3 separate regions of the Homo sapiens genome follow, and regions 1 and 3 are each linked to region 2. The links are contacts of gene promoters, found by promoter capture Hi-C in blood cells and fetal thymus (Javierre and others, 2016). All regions are on one chromosome and are shown on one strand. The core of a region is centred on a gene start or on the middle of the fragment in contact, and the rest is flanking DNA. Distances in the headings are between cores, read along the strand shown.

Region 1 (4,372 bases), core at 1,241-3,740, 160 kb before region 2:
AATCTCTGTTTTCATACTCACATCTGCTTTTGTGACTTTGACCCTCTTGCTTCCTCTTATAAGGATCCTCGTGATTATATTAGGCCTGCCCACATAATCCAGGATAATTTCCCCATTTCAAAATTCTTTTTTTTTTTTTTTTTTTGACACAGAGTCTCGCTTTGCTGCCCAGGCTGGAGTGCAGTGGTGCGATCTTGCCTCACTACTGCCTCTGCCTCCCTGCCTCCAGGTTTCAAGAGATTCTTGTGCCTCAGCCTCCTGAGTAGCTGGAATTACAGGTGTGTGCCATTACACCCAGCTAATTTTTGTATTTTTTAATAGAGACAGGGTTTCACCATGGTGGCCAAGTCATACTCCTGGCCTAAAGGGATCCACCTGCCTCGCCTCAGTCTCCCAAAATGCTGGGATTACAGGTATGAGCCACTACGCCTGGCCTCAAAATTCTTAATCGCATTTGTAAAGTCCCTTTTGCCATGTAAGGGAACATACAGATTCCAGGGATTAGGACATGAAACTCTTTGGGGAGCCGTTATTCTGTCACTACAACTGGCCTTCATGTTTTTTGAACTTGTAAAACTGATTTCCAAGAAACGTAGGGTCTTGTCTTGATCTCCTTCCTCCCAGATGTAATCATGGCTAGCTCCTTTCTGTTATTCATATCTTAACTTAAAGATCATCTACTCAGGGATGCCATTCTGACCACTCTGTCAAAAGTATACCACCCCTCTCCACTACTCACATTCTATTATGCCTATTTTATATTTTTGCGGCACTTAGCATTGTCTGAAAAGTAACTCTATGGAAATGTGCCAATCTTGTTACTCCAATATCTAGTGCCTGCACACAATAGTCCTGGCTCTCAGTAAACATTTTGTATTGAATAAATAAATGAAATAAACATAGCCTGTTCAAGTTAGGACCATGTGAAAAATGGATCTGTACACTGACACTGGAATGCCACCAGGCCACCTTCTGCTTGCCAGGAAGAAATTTTCATGAATGAACAGGAAGGTGAGAGGAAAATCAGGAGAACGCTGATATTTATATCTCAATAATAGAGACTGTCCCAAGAACAGATTGGTCAACTGTCAGATGCTGTTGAAAGGCCAAGTAAGAGCTTTAAAAATTAGTACTTTGTGATGGTCAAAAGTTTACTATTGTTCAAATTATCAGTTAAATGAGCAGTAGGTGACTGTTAATGAAATTAAAATGTAAGTCCTGTGTTAGCTTGCTTAGAAAAAAAAAGGAATTAAAGTGTAAGTACATTACAGAGGTTCTTAAATTAGAAAACATTTTTTTAAAATTTTTTTTGAGACCGAGTCTCGCTCTGTCACCCAGGCTGGAGTGCAGTGTCGCAATCTTGGCTCACTGCAACCTCTGCCTCCCGGGTTCAAGCAATTCTCCTGTCTCAGCCTCCCGAGTAACTGGGACCACAGGCACCTGCCACCATGCCTGGCTAATTTTTGTATTTTTAGTAAAGGCGAGGTTTCACCATATTGGTCAGGCTGGTCTCGAACTCCTGACCTCAGGTGATCCACCCGCCTCAGCCTCCCAAAGTGTTGAGATTACAGGCATGAGGCACTGCGCCCGGCCAGAAAACATATTTTACATAATCACTTAGACATATTCTTAGTGACAGATTATAAATCATTTTAAGTAAATTTTGTTCTTATCACATACATGAAAATAAATATATCCAAAGTGTAAAGCATTCAAGCAATATATAATAGAGTGAGATAAGAATTTCCACACAGCCCACACTTTCATTTCTAGAGGTAACTTGTAATCCTATCATTTATTCAATGTATTTAAATCCATATGCATGTGTATGTGCATTGGTATTCATTTTTAGCATGAATGGGATCATTTTTCTGATATTTCTAATCTCCCGAATTCCTAATAGCCTGCCATAACCGTCTGTTCTTTTATGGTTACAATCCTGGACATACTTTGGGGGATATCAGTTATACTTATTCTAATATCTGTTTGCTATTTAACAATTTTCTAGGGTGTTAAGGATTTTCTGTGTGAATTCATAGCCACTTTTTGGGGGGACTTGGGGGGAGGTGTTTCTTCACATACCTAGTAATCTTTGGTTGTGTTGAATCCTCAGACTTAAGATCCTCTGTTTGCTTGTCTGCTTTGCTGTTTATTTTTGCCCTGATTGTTTTTAGAGGTGTAATGAAGGGGCAGGGTATGCTACCTGGTGGGGGCACTGGAGGTTTGTCTTGGGCTGTGGGGACCCTGGTCTCTCCTGGGATTCAGTAGCTGCCAGGCTGTTTGACTCTAGTCCACATACTCATTGTGTTAGTCTGAGTATAGATGCTTCTGCAAATGCTGCTTCACACAGGGCTGATTGTAGGGTATTGATGAGGGGCCAGCTGGCTTAAATGGTCCATATGTAATTCCTCAGAGTGGGTTTCACTGGACCACCTGAATCAGTATCATGTGGGGAGTGCATTAAAAATGTGATTGCTTGGAGCCACCCCAGACATAAATATAGAACCAGATTATCTGTGGAAAAGGAGCCCAGAAATCTGGTCCTGAGGCTGAGTCTGTGGGAGAGGCCATACTGTAATATAGAATTTTAGCAAGCTACCCATGATTCTTATGTAGATTGGAGTGTGACAACCACTATTTCAATGATTCACCAGGTCTCACTCCCTTCTCTGTGTTTTAATTAATTCCGAGGAAGGTCCTGTCTATCCCATGCCCACCAGCATCACCACTCAATTGCTCTTCACCTGGGTTATTCCTCAGTAGAGTTTACCCTTTCTACTATCCTTTCTATGTATTACCTTTCAGGAATTCCTAGAAATTTCTCACCATAAATGACAGTCTTTCTTTTAAGGCTTATTTATCTATCTTTATCCTGGAAGTTACTGTATAATTGCAGAAATGCTGATGATGTTTTATCAGTTTACAAAACTGATGTTTCCTATACATACAAGACCTTCTTAAAAATTAAAAAATGGGCATAATGCCCATTTTTAGAAATGTGAATTAGGAAGGATAGAGCCACTTAAGTGGCTTCAGGTGCTGGAGACCTTTCTCTATGCTACCTGTCTCTAGCTCTTCCATCTATCTATCTATCTATCTATCTATCTATCTATCTATCTATCTATCTATCTACACACACACACACACATATTCATATATATATGAAAGTAATAAAAGTATATTTTATATCCATATATGTTTAAAAGCAATAGAACTAGATTTTATAGTCTTCATATTTTTCATTATTTCAGGGAGGTGTTCCCTTAATTAATCTAGATATTATAGTACTTAAAAATAAAATTTGTAGAAAATTTCATCAAGCTCTCAGAGCATCATTAAAGCTCTACCTCTTTAGCAAACGCTACTGGTTACCTTCTGAACATTCACTACAGCTTATTTCCTGCCCATCAGAGTTCCAATTATTATTTGTTCTAAGGATAAATCTTGCTTGGTCTAAGGTAATTGTAGCAGCCCTGTTCCCCTTGCCAGTGGTTCACTTAGGAGAGGATATGTAAAGGGTTCTAGACAAGGAAATATAAGGAGAATGCTGTTTGGTGGCATCTGATAATTCTTTTTTCTCACTTCTAAAAAGACACTAGAAAACCATCCCTTCCTGCCTGCAGGCACCATATCCAAATGAGGCCTCTAGAGTGGAGGAACTGCAGCCATCTTGCGATTATAGGGACCTGACTTAGCTTTGGGTTGAAGCCAGTGCTGAGGGCAGCAGGATGGAGACAGAAAGAACATCAAGATCCTTGGGGATATTGCTGAGACTCTTATCAACTAAAACTGACATTATCCTACCTCTGTTACTTGCAGCCCAAAGCATTCTGATAAAATCTCTATTTTTAAATACATAACAACGTTCTTTTAAACCTTGGAAAATATTTTCTTAAAAATCTTGGAAAAAGAACCCCAGTTTCACCCATTTATAAATTGCTTCTTCCTTTTATTGTCAAAATTCACAAAACTTATATCCAAATATTTAAAAATCTTTAAACAACACAAAGAATTAACTTACAGGTGACAAACATTCCTATTCCCAGCCCCCACAAAGAATAAGGATTAAAAATGGAAGAAACCTGATTTCATAGCATATTCCAATTTCTGGAAGTCCAAAGAGGTTTGAGTGTGCACAGGAAATCTTGAGTTTACTAACAAATTGTATTAATATATCAAATTTTTTGAATGAACTGTTTTGACTTCAAACTTATCATTACAAAAATGGCGAAGCCACACATTTGACTCTAGCCTCACCTCCTGACCTCTGAGCAACCTGAGGCTTTAAGCAGTCCCAGGCTTTGATCCTAAATGCCCATACTCCTCAACTTAATCCTAGCAGTAAAGGAGAGTAGATAGAGTATAGATGGAA
Region 2 (4,707 bases), core at 2,046-4,545:
TGATGCCTGCTTTTCACTAGGGCTCCACAACCACCTGGTCAAATACTGTACTGGAATTAGATATATGTCTTCTTCCATAGCAGCAAAATTCTTCATACTGAATTGAATTCTACAATTCTGCTCATTATGATAATAATTATTCCCTCTCCCACTCCACCAATTCATTCAGATCCTATGACCAAAATTAATGAATTCACTCCTCTAGGTTTTAGAATTATGTAACTGCTACATGTTCCCACTGTTAGGCTGTAGCAACACAATATATCATACCTTTTGGATTTCTTCAGGCAACGCATGCATGGGAATGTGATGATCCATAACTTCCCAAAATATGGTGAGAGAGCTTTGAAGCCAAAGGAAATCTAAGAACATTGATGGCAACAGTCAGAACAGAAATAATGTAGAGAACATTCAAATTAAGATGCTTTATAAACTCCTAGAAGTATTTGGGGATGAATGGTGATAACTGTTTCAACAGATGCTTATTTCATCAGCTCAATGTTAGAAGGTACAGTTAGGGTTTTCTCCGTTAGTTATTGGGCCAATAGAACAGGAGAGAACTATAGAGACTGCTAAGTTAGAAAGAATATTTTCTCTTTTGTTAGAACTTTATAGTCTAATAATTTCTGTTGTGATTTACTACTAATTGTTTTTCAAATACATAATGACTAAAATTTTAAATACACATTTCAGTGTATTTTAAAAATCAAATATTTTTCTGAAATGCTGCTAGAAAAAGTATGAAAATATAGTATTTTAGCAGATGAAAAAAGCAATTGTGGCATGAATGCTGGATTAAATGATGAAATACAGAAAAAGAGCATTTAGAGATACCATATTAAATATGATATGCAAACACTGAACAGAAGAGTGATCAAAAAATAAGAAGCCAAGTGCCAATTTTATCTAAGATGGACATTTATATAATTTTATGCAGATATTTTACTTTTAACAGATTTTCTTTTTCTAATAAAAGCCATTCAATATAAAGGTCAGTCACTACTTTCATAAAACCAGAGGATAAATGGAGGAGCACTTTGGGTTTTTTGTTTTTTTTTTTAAATCCTTCCCTCACGAGTAAGGGCTGTTTATACATATCTAAGAAGTCAGGAGAAGGGCGAGGGCAGTGGCAGCAGAGTCAGATGATACAGGCACAATTCCATAGCAGGGAAGAAGGCATAGACAAGAGCAGTCTAAGAGTTCAAGAAAGGAAAAGATCTTATGTTTCAGATGAGAGGTGGGAGTTAGTGAAGGCTTCCTGAGGTTGCTTGTATTCAATCAGGGCAGGATTTTGACAAGAGACTGGAGAAGCAAAGTACTCTATCAGAGAGAGCAACCCCGGCCATACAGCAAGGTAGCAGGGAAACCGTAGTTGTCAAAAAGTCCTATAGTGGCATTATCTTTGTAAATGGTGCAACCACTAGTGGAAGAGAAGATTCCTTGTTCCCTGTGTTAGCACAAAGACTCATTTCAGTGAGTTGCTGTTTAAAACCAAAAACTAATGAGCTTTATGTCTTCCCACATAAAACATAATATGACATGTGTGGTAAAGTTAACTGAGGTCTGCAATGGAGGTACCATTAACCATGTCAACATAAGCCCAAACATAATCTGATGTTTGGCAGATTGTCATAATCATGTGGCAAGAGCCCAGAAGGCTCATTATTCTCATTTCTGTCATTTAATGGTGGATTTGCCATCAGTAAAATGAAATAGTAACTTCAACTCTATTGGGAGAATTTTCCAAAAAATTACCATCTAAACATCCTTTTAAAATTTCACCCATAAAGTTATCTGAGAGCACGGATCTAAATGACAGTATAAACAAAGCACCAGTAGAACAGTTTTTGTGTAGTGCCTTCATTGTCTGTGAATCTATTCCAACTTTATGGCCTTAGCATAAGAAGGGGAGGAATTGGCAGGTTCTGATTATCGGGGGGAAACTAAAAATTAAAAGTCCTGCCAACCCAGAAAATGCTCCACAATGCAGAAAGACAACAATTTTATTAGGCATTCAACTAGACTTTGATGCACATCACGGCTAATCTGCTAATGAGGTTACAAAGAGAGAAGGAAATCCCTCTTTTATACAGCCAAGGAGACACAATCCATTACACATTCTCAAGGAAACTGGTAACGTGTCCTCATGTAAGAGGGCTTAACATAGTGTTCTATACATTCTTTTATATTTCCTCTTTAATTCATCTGGTAATTGGGGTAACCACCTGTGTTAGCTAACGGCTTTCCTCCTAAGTAATGCACAGCTCCATAACGAAACAGGTGTTTACAATTAGGAATAACGCACCTAGGTTAAACTCCCAAAGTGACAAGGAGACTGGGGCCCTATCTTCCTTGATGTTTACATTTTAAAGAAATGGCTTCCAGGTCCTCAAGAAAAGCATTCCTAGGTCTTTAAAAACATTTGCATACATATTAAATAGAGGAAGCATTCACAAATACTAAGTTTCTCAAGAAAAAAGAAGGGTCTTTCCCTTTTGGCAACAGGGAAAATCTGTAATTTTTTAAATTTAGTCTTACATAGTTTTGCGTGTGTTATCAAACAAGTCCCTTTAATCCTTTCTCATTGCACGTATGTGGACCGCACTTTGGCAAGAGGTGCAGTGATAAGTGGCTGCAGCTACGTGGGTGTTTGTGAACCTCCTCTCTAACAAGATCACCGAAAAGACATTTTTTAAAATGCAGACACGTCCTTGTTCGTTTCCAATTCCGTTTCTCACACTAGTGTCACGTCAGGCCATTAACTCACGTTCAGCTTTCAAGCCCTTACGTAAAGAACCATTCCCATGGCGTGAATCACCCACAACGAGCAGGTCAGGGGCAGGTGAAGGCGGGAGTTCACATCCTAAGACTTTCCTGAAGCGGCAGGCTCTTCCACACAGAAACCAACCGCAAGGCCAGACAAAACTGCTGGAATGGCTTTCAAATCTGTCCCTTTCTAACCCCGTTCCCCCTGGACCTGCAGTGGCCGGAAGAGGAGGAGGAGGAGGGTGCGGGGGTGAGGAAGCAGAGCCGCGCGTTCCCCGGGGCTGGGAGGAAGGCGGACCGCGCCTGGGCCCCGCGGGCTGGCAGACACCAGGAAGGGGCCGCAGAGGAGCGTGGTGGCGGAGTCCAGACCCGGGGCCTCGTGCTCTCGCTGGGGCGCCGCGGCTCAGCTTTCTGGCTCTCTCCCCGGGTGCGAGCACGCCTCCACTCCGGAACTGCATTTGGAGGACCGGGTCATCCCAGGCTGAGGAAAGCCATCGTCCCTCACCTCGACTTCGACTAGGACGGGTGTGAAACGGCTTTCCCGGTCTCCCGGGCGACCGCGCCGCCAGTCGGCTGGACGTCAGGGCGCGGCGACGTCACGGCCCACGTCTGTCGTCAACGCTCCCCTGCACCGCCCAGGGTCTCACGCGCCGGGCGGAAGTGGGAAAACTGGTGGTGGGGCTCGGAAGGCTGGGCTAGTCTTACGCGGAATGCTGTGAGAGGGAGGGAAGGGGATCGAGGGATGAGGTGGGCGAGAGTGGGTCGGGTGCTTGGTAGCGACTGCTGAGATGGAGGGAGCTGTCCCAGCCTCGTGGGGGGTTGGAGAGAGGCACTGCCGGGAGTCGGGAGTCGGGAGCCTATAGCCCTACCTATCACCCCTTGCTCTGGGGCCTATGTGGTAGACACAGCAGTGAGCAGTTACTGTTCTTGAGCAGAGGAAAAAGAGATGCCTGTAGAGGTCATGGGTGTAAAGGGAAGTTCTGGTTTCAGTCATTACAGCCAGGACAAATTAATTGGGAAGGCGTTGGTGACATTTCCATTCTAGTCCAAAGTAGTGAAGATTAAGGGCTTAGTTCAAAAAGTATTTTGAGACCTCCTAGTCTACACTTTATTTATCGCAGGCTACCCACCCTTACACGTGACTAACTTCCCTTTGTTCATACATTCATTCATAAAACAAGTATTTATAGACCTACTACGCGACAAGCAGAGCAGCATACCGAGATAGGGTGATACTCTGTGACTGGTCAAGGCAGGAGCAGCCATTGGTGTAATTAGCAGGTGACTCATTCGTAGTCCAGATCTTGCCTTTCTGAGGATTATATAAGGTCGAAGTACAGTTCTTCCAAGAACCAAAGAAAACATCGATGGCTCTGTAGCAGGCAAAGAGACTGGTTTGCTATTGAATAAAATAAGATTAAGTAAATACAAAGAAAATTAATTGAACCTATAGATTTAGAGAAGTGATTAAATGACGCAGAGCAGTATCGGTACACCAAACTGCTTATTGATAACTACTAATTAATGACACCAGGAAGTACTGAACACTAGTGCCTTGTTCCTTGGCACTAAAAAGTCTAGTAGATGTGGCTGGGCGCGGTGGCTCGGGCCTGTAATTCCAGCACTTTGGGAGGCCAAGGCGGGCAGATCACAAGGTCAGGAGATCGAGATCATCCTGGCTAACACGGTGAAACCCCGTCTCTACTAAAAATACAAAAAAGTAGCCGGGCGTGGTGGCGGGCGCCTGTAGTCCCAGCTACTTGGGCTACTCGGGAGGCTGAGGCAGGAGAATGGCGTGAACCTGGGAGGCAGAGCTTACCCTGAGCCGAGATAATGCCACTGCACTCCAGCCTGGGCGACAGACCAAGACTCAGTCTCAAAAAAAAAAAAAAAAAAAAAAGTCTAGTAGATGTATCTTGTACATTTAACCTGACTGATATT
Region 3 (4,876 bases), core at 273-2,772, 140 kb before region 2:
GGGAGAAAGAATGCAAGGGGCAAACTATCTGAGAGGGGTGAATTTAGGAAATCAGGCAAAGATCAGAAGCCATAGAATTTAAAAAATGAAGTCTAAAATTTATTCCCAAGGTCCTATGGTACAGTTAAAGAAAAGGCAAAGAGAGTGGTAGAGCTAAAGTCTAGCCTTAGAATAAGAAAATGATGTTGGAGGTAAAGAACAAGGAGAGAAGGTTGCAATGGCACAAATGAAAAATGACTAGAGAATGAACCAGAATTACAGCTATCTCAAAGGAGAGAAAGGAGTCTCAGATGAATGACAACCATTATAAGGAGTAGATGCCTATGATCATTATAGAAAATTCCTCTATGATTCAAACATTAATAAAATGGAGATGATACATAAAACAGTGGTAATCTTTAGATGAAAGTTCAATGTTGGGAGCAAATGAAAAGGCAAGAAAACAAAGATAATCTTAGACGACTCCAGTGATCAAAGATCACATGGCTTCCACAGGAGATCCCTTTATAAGACTCACATTTCAAATGGTGATCAGGTTCTAAAAAAGATTTCTTAGAATTTTAGTTAATACTGCCTGGCTTGCAATTTGTCTAGAGATCAGGCTAAACTTTTTGTCCATCTACTTTTGGACACAGAAGCAGCCCACAGTGGTTCATTATCAAGCTGGTCTCTTTTAAGGGCTGTTGGATTTAATACAACTAAAAATAATTACAAACTTCCTTGGTTTTCTGTTTGTAAAATCAGCACTTTCCCCTTTTATTTGAAGCCAAGGTCATATTATTCCAACTAAAGTCCAACAGTTCAAAAGGAATCATAAAGGCTGATCAAGTCACTACAGTGAGTGCTCTCTGAAAATCAGACCTTGCAGGTAAGGTCCTTGTGGATCTGTGTTCATAGATCTCTATCTGCCATACAGACGGATGACTCCTGAATTAAACATAGGCACTCTCTTCTTCAGTAACCTTTTCTAAGAGCAGGCAGACTACTGTTACAGCTAATCAGGGCTGACTAGAAAATAAACAAGTCGAGGTGAATACACCTTTGGGCAAAGAGAAATTAAAATGTATAGCTTTCTTCTGAAATTAAAGTAGTATTTAAAGAAATTTGAATGCTTGTATACTAAATATAATCATTTGGTTTGCTATCACATCAGGAAAGTTACTTTAAAATACATTTGAATATATAGTTCTTTAGATGATCTTACATTTTATCTTGCCTATTCTAATGTATTAAGGTAGGTAAGAAAAGCTACCATATTCCCAATTTACAGATGAAGTAACTGAGACATAGAAATTAATAACTTATTCAAAGGGCCTATACAAGGCCTAAACAGTACCAGAAAGCAGAACTGTTTGGATCCCAGCTCAGTATTTTTTCCAACTGAACCACATCACTCATTTTGTGACTTGAATCACAAGCACTAAACAAGCTACTAATTAAGGAATGCAGTACTTACATATGCTACAACATGGATGAAACTCACAAACATTATCCTAAGTGAAAGACGCCACACACAAAAGACCGCATATTGTATGGTTCTATTTGTATAAAATGTCCAGGATAGGTAAGTCTATAGAGATAGAAAGTAGGTTAAGGATTGTTGGAAAGGGGCAGGAGTGTAAGGGGAGTGGCTGTTGATGGCCACAAAGTTTCTTTTTGGTGTGAAAGAAATCTCCCAAAATTCGACTTTGCTGATGGTCACACAACTCTGCAAATATCCTAAAAACCACTGAATTGTACACTTAAAGTGGGTGAATTTTGTAATTTGTGAATTTTATCTCTGTAAAGCTGTTTTAAAAGATTCAATTAGGATGTTAAAATGTTATATGCAAAATCATTTTTTAAAGTATTTGTGTTATTTACTATACTGAACAGCTTACTAAAATTAAAAAGTCAAAAGTTTTTTCACTTGGAATAAATTTGAAAGTTGGTAAAATAAATTAAGGAAGGATATTAAAAATAAGCTGAATGCTGAAGTGACTTATTTGAACTCTGTCTTCCAATATTTGTGACTGCTGACAAAAAGTAAAGGACATTTTATTCTAGCAGGTGGAAGGAAAATCATTTAAGTAGACTGACTGTGGGTCACAATGACCTCTGAGAGGATTATATCAATTGAGATAAATTGTGCATTTTGGAAGTTATTAGTGTGAGCTAAACATAAAATTACAGAACTTAGGTAAATAAATCTTCAAAAGGAAACAAAAAATTTGGTCTTCAAATTTTTACTTCATATGTTGGCTTTTCTATGAAAAAATCAAATTTTGGCATTAAGAGTTAGGTTGCTATTGATAGCCCATTATTTACTCCTAAACCACTATTAAACTATATGCACCAGAATTAACACATGTATTTAAATTTTTGAGCATCTCTATTTCAAGACAGAAATAAAGGGAAAAAATGTGGGGAAAACAAAGTTAAAAGTTTTTCATGTAGAAAAGTAATGATCATAAAAACCGTATGCTTGGGCCAGGCATGGTGGCTCACGCCTGTAATCCCAGTACTTTGAGAGGCCTAGGAGGGCAGATCACCTGAAGTCAGGAGTTTGAGACCAGCCTGGCCAACATGGTGAAACCCCGTCTCTACTAAAAATACAAAAATTAGCCAGGCTTGGTGGCGCATGTCTGTAATCCCAGCTACTCCAGAGGCTGAGGCACGAGAATCACTTGAATCCAGGAGGTGGAGGTTGCAGTGAGCCGAGATCGCGCCACTGCACTCCAGTCTGGGCAACAGAGTGAGACTCCATCTCAAAACAAAACCAACCAACCAACCAAACAAAAATCATATACTTGAATCAAAGCTGAAACTTTTCAGTGGTGATTTACAAGGAAACAAGTAACAAAATGTGAAAAATATGAGCATTTATTTAACTTTGGAAACAAGAAAATGCCATCAGAGTTAGAACCAGAATCATAGCATATCAGAGCCCAAAGGGCCTTCCAAGGTCTTAGTTCTATCCATTCATTGCCTAGGTGTGGACATATATTCATTAAGGATAAATGGCATGTCAGAGTCACCTGCCTAATGTGTGAAAGGGTCATCATGTTCTGATTCTTGGCTTAGCATGCTTTCAATTAATACCACATTGGTAGGGAACATGGGTGGGGGGGATGAAAGGTACAGCAGAGAGATATTTACATAGTTTGAAATGAAGAAAGATAAAGTTTATTCTAAAAGTGAATTCAAAAGTAAGAAATAAGGGACTATAAAATATTAGAACAGTTTTTAAAATATAAGGAAGCACAATAGTGACATAATATTCAGCAAACATTAACAAATTCAGGTATAAAATATATATTTCATGTTAGTTAAAAAAAGGATAAAATGTTAACTCATTGATTAGGAGAGATAACCTAAGAAAGAATAAGGAACAACTAAAGGCATGGATAATAAAAGGCCACAGTATAGAAATTCAAGTGAAATGAATGAAGGGATTGCAATATTCAGGGGAAATGGATAGTATAGAGTTTGAATTCTCTGAAGAAAAAAAGGCAGAGTGGTGGGATAGAAGGTGGGGCAGAGAATTAGGCCAGGAACACAGAAAGGAAGATGTTCAATTAGTACCACAAAAGAAGCCTTATTGTGATACTTAGCACTTAAAGTTAGTTCTACAACTGCAGAGAAGTTGGTAAAATGGCTTATAGGAAAGAGTATATAAACAATGCAAATGCTTAGAATTGAACTTATGATTATTAATTAAAATAAGCCATTTAGAAAGTTCATAACAAAAAGTGAATTTAAGTGATTTCTAATATATTCTTTAAACAAACAATTATTTTCTTAAAAACAGGACAAAAGAAAGAAGAGATGAGTGGTGTATCAGTCTGCCCTTATTTGATGTGCCCAAAGAAAATCTAAAATACTATGTCCATTATATTAACCTGATGATTTATCTGGGGAGAAGATATTCACTGTAATGTATTGGTTTTTCCTTTTCTCAAAAGCTTAACATGATATCTGAGAAGACTTTAATAAGCTGGAAAAGCTATGAATGGTGCTTATCAAGATAACAAAATCTTACAGACATAAGTCAGCTAATAACAAAAGTTAGGCATGCATTTAAAAGAAAGCAGATTAAGAAGATGGCTGAAGTTCATTAAAATTATGAAAGTAAATGTCATAAGATGGTAGAGAAAGTAAAGCCAAACAAAACGATTTGAATGGGAACATAATTGGAACTAGAGAAATTTACAGGAGACAAAAAAAATACCTTGTTGAGAATCACTAAAGTTAAAAGTACCTGTATATAAAACCAGTGTGAAGCTAGGAGGTGAGAAGTCTTGTGAAGACCCATGAAGAGTTGAAGGACACCTGCATACTAGAAGTCAAGGTGAAGAGAAGGCCCGTTGGCTGGCGTGTGGGAGATGTCCAATAAATACTTGCTGAAAAAATGAAATCAGTTCCAGGACATGGTCAGCCCAAGGTCAATAGATGGGAACATCTATTGTGGTTAGAAGCTAGTGAATAGGTTAATAGACAGTAGGCAGAGATAAAATCAGGTTCTAACAAGTAGGAAATAGGTGGTAGGAAGGGAGCAAAGGGGCAGGCTTGGGGCACTGGAGGTGGGAAAATCAGGAAAGTCCCTCATGGACCCTAGAGACAAGAAGAAAGTTATAATTACTTTGCAATAAAACACTGCAAAATCTGAGATGGAAACTTTGCTGTCTTTCCTGAACTTGTAGTTCTATAGTCTTTCTAAACCACTGTAAATACTTTTGCCAAATGAATTGGGAAGAAAAATATGTTGGTATAATCAGTTCACCAGAAAGATATCTGTGGATAAAGCAAGAAGTACACTTGTGAACATGTTTCTAAATGTTTTGACAATTTCTATATGGGGACCCTGATATGAGAATGAGTAAGATTGTTGGTTGTT

What was found. The method cuts DNA at HindIII sites, captures the fragments that hold promoters and counts their contacts. A CHiCAGO score of 5 or more calls a contact.
Region 1: a fragment that was not itself captured here is called in contact with the fragment with the promoter of LEKR1 in region 2 in 2 of 17 cell types (naive B cells and total B cells); the score reaches 10.8 in naive B cells.
Region 3: a contact is called between a fragment that was not itself captured here and the fragment with the promoter of LEKR1 in region 2, in 2 of 17 cell types (non-activated CD4 T cells and total B cells). The highest score is 5.3, in non-activated CD4 T cells.

Annotation. Positions count from the first base shown.
Region 1 is chr3:156,981,616-156,985,987 of GRCh38, reverse strand. The region is part of intron 7 of LEKR1 (leucine, glutamate and lysine rich 1); the gene reads right to left. Among named protein-coding and RNA genes, the nearest start is that of LINC02029, 98 kb to the left of the region's middle. The HindIII fragment of the contact is 5,372 bases long and covers 1-4,372 here.
Region 2 is chr3:156,824,941-156,829,647 of GRCh38, reverse strand. LEKR1 (leucine, glutamate and lysine rich 1) reads right to left here and starts at 3,295. Exons shown (of 13, transcript NM_001004316.3): 1 at 3,272-3,295; 2 at 271-362. The coding sequence starts at 318. RefSeq lists a silencer at 2,154-2,448 and an enhancer at 2,763-2,822. The HindIII fragment of the contact is 11,302 bases long and covers 1-4,707 here.
Region 3 is chr3:156,958,177-156,963,052 of GRCh38, reverse strand. The region is part of intron 6 of LEKR1 (leucine, glutamate and lysine rich 1); the gene reads right to left. Among named protein-coding and RNA genes, the nearest start is that of LINC02029, 120 kb to the left of the region's middle. The HindIII fragment of the contact is 4,848 bases long and covers 1-3,946 here.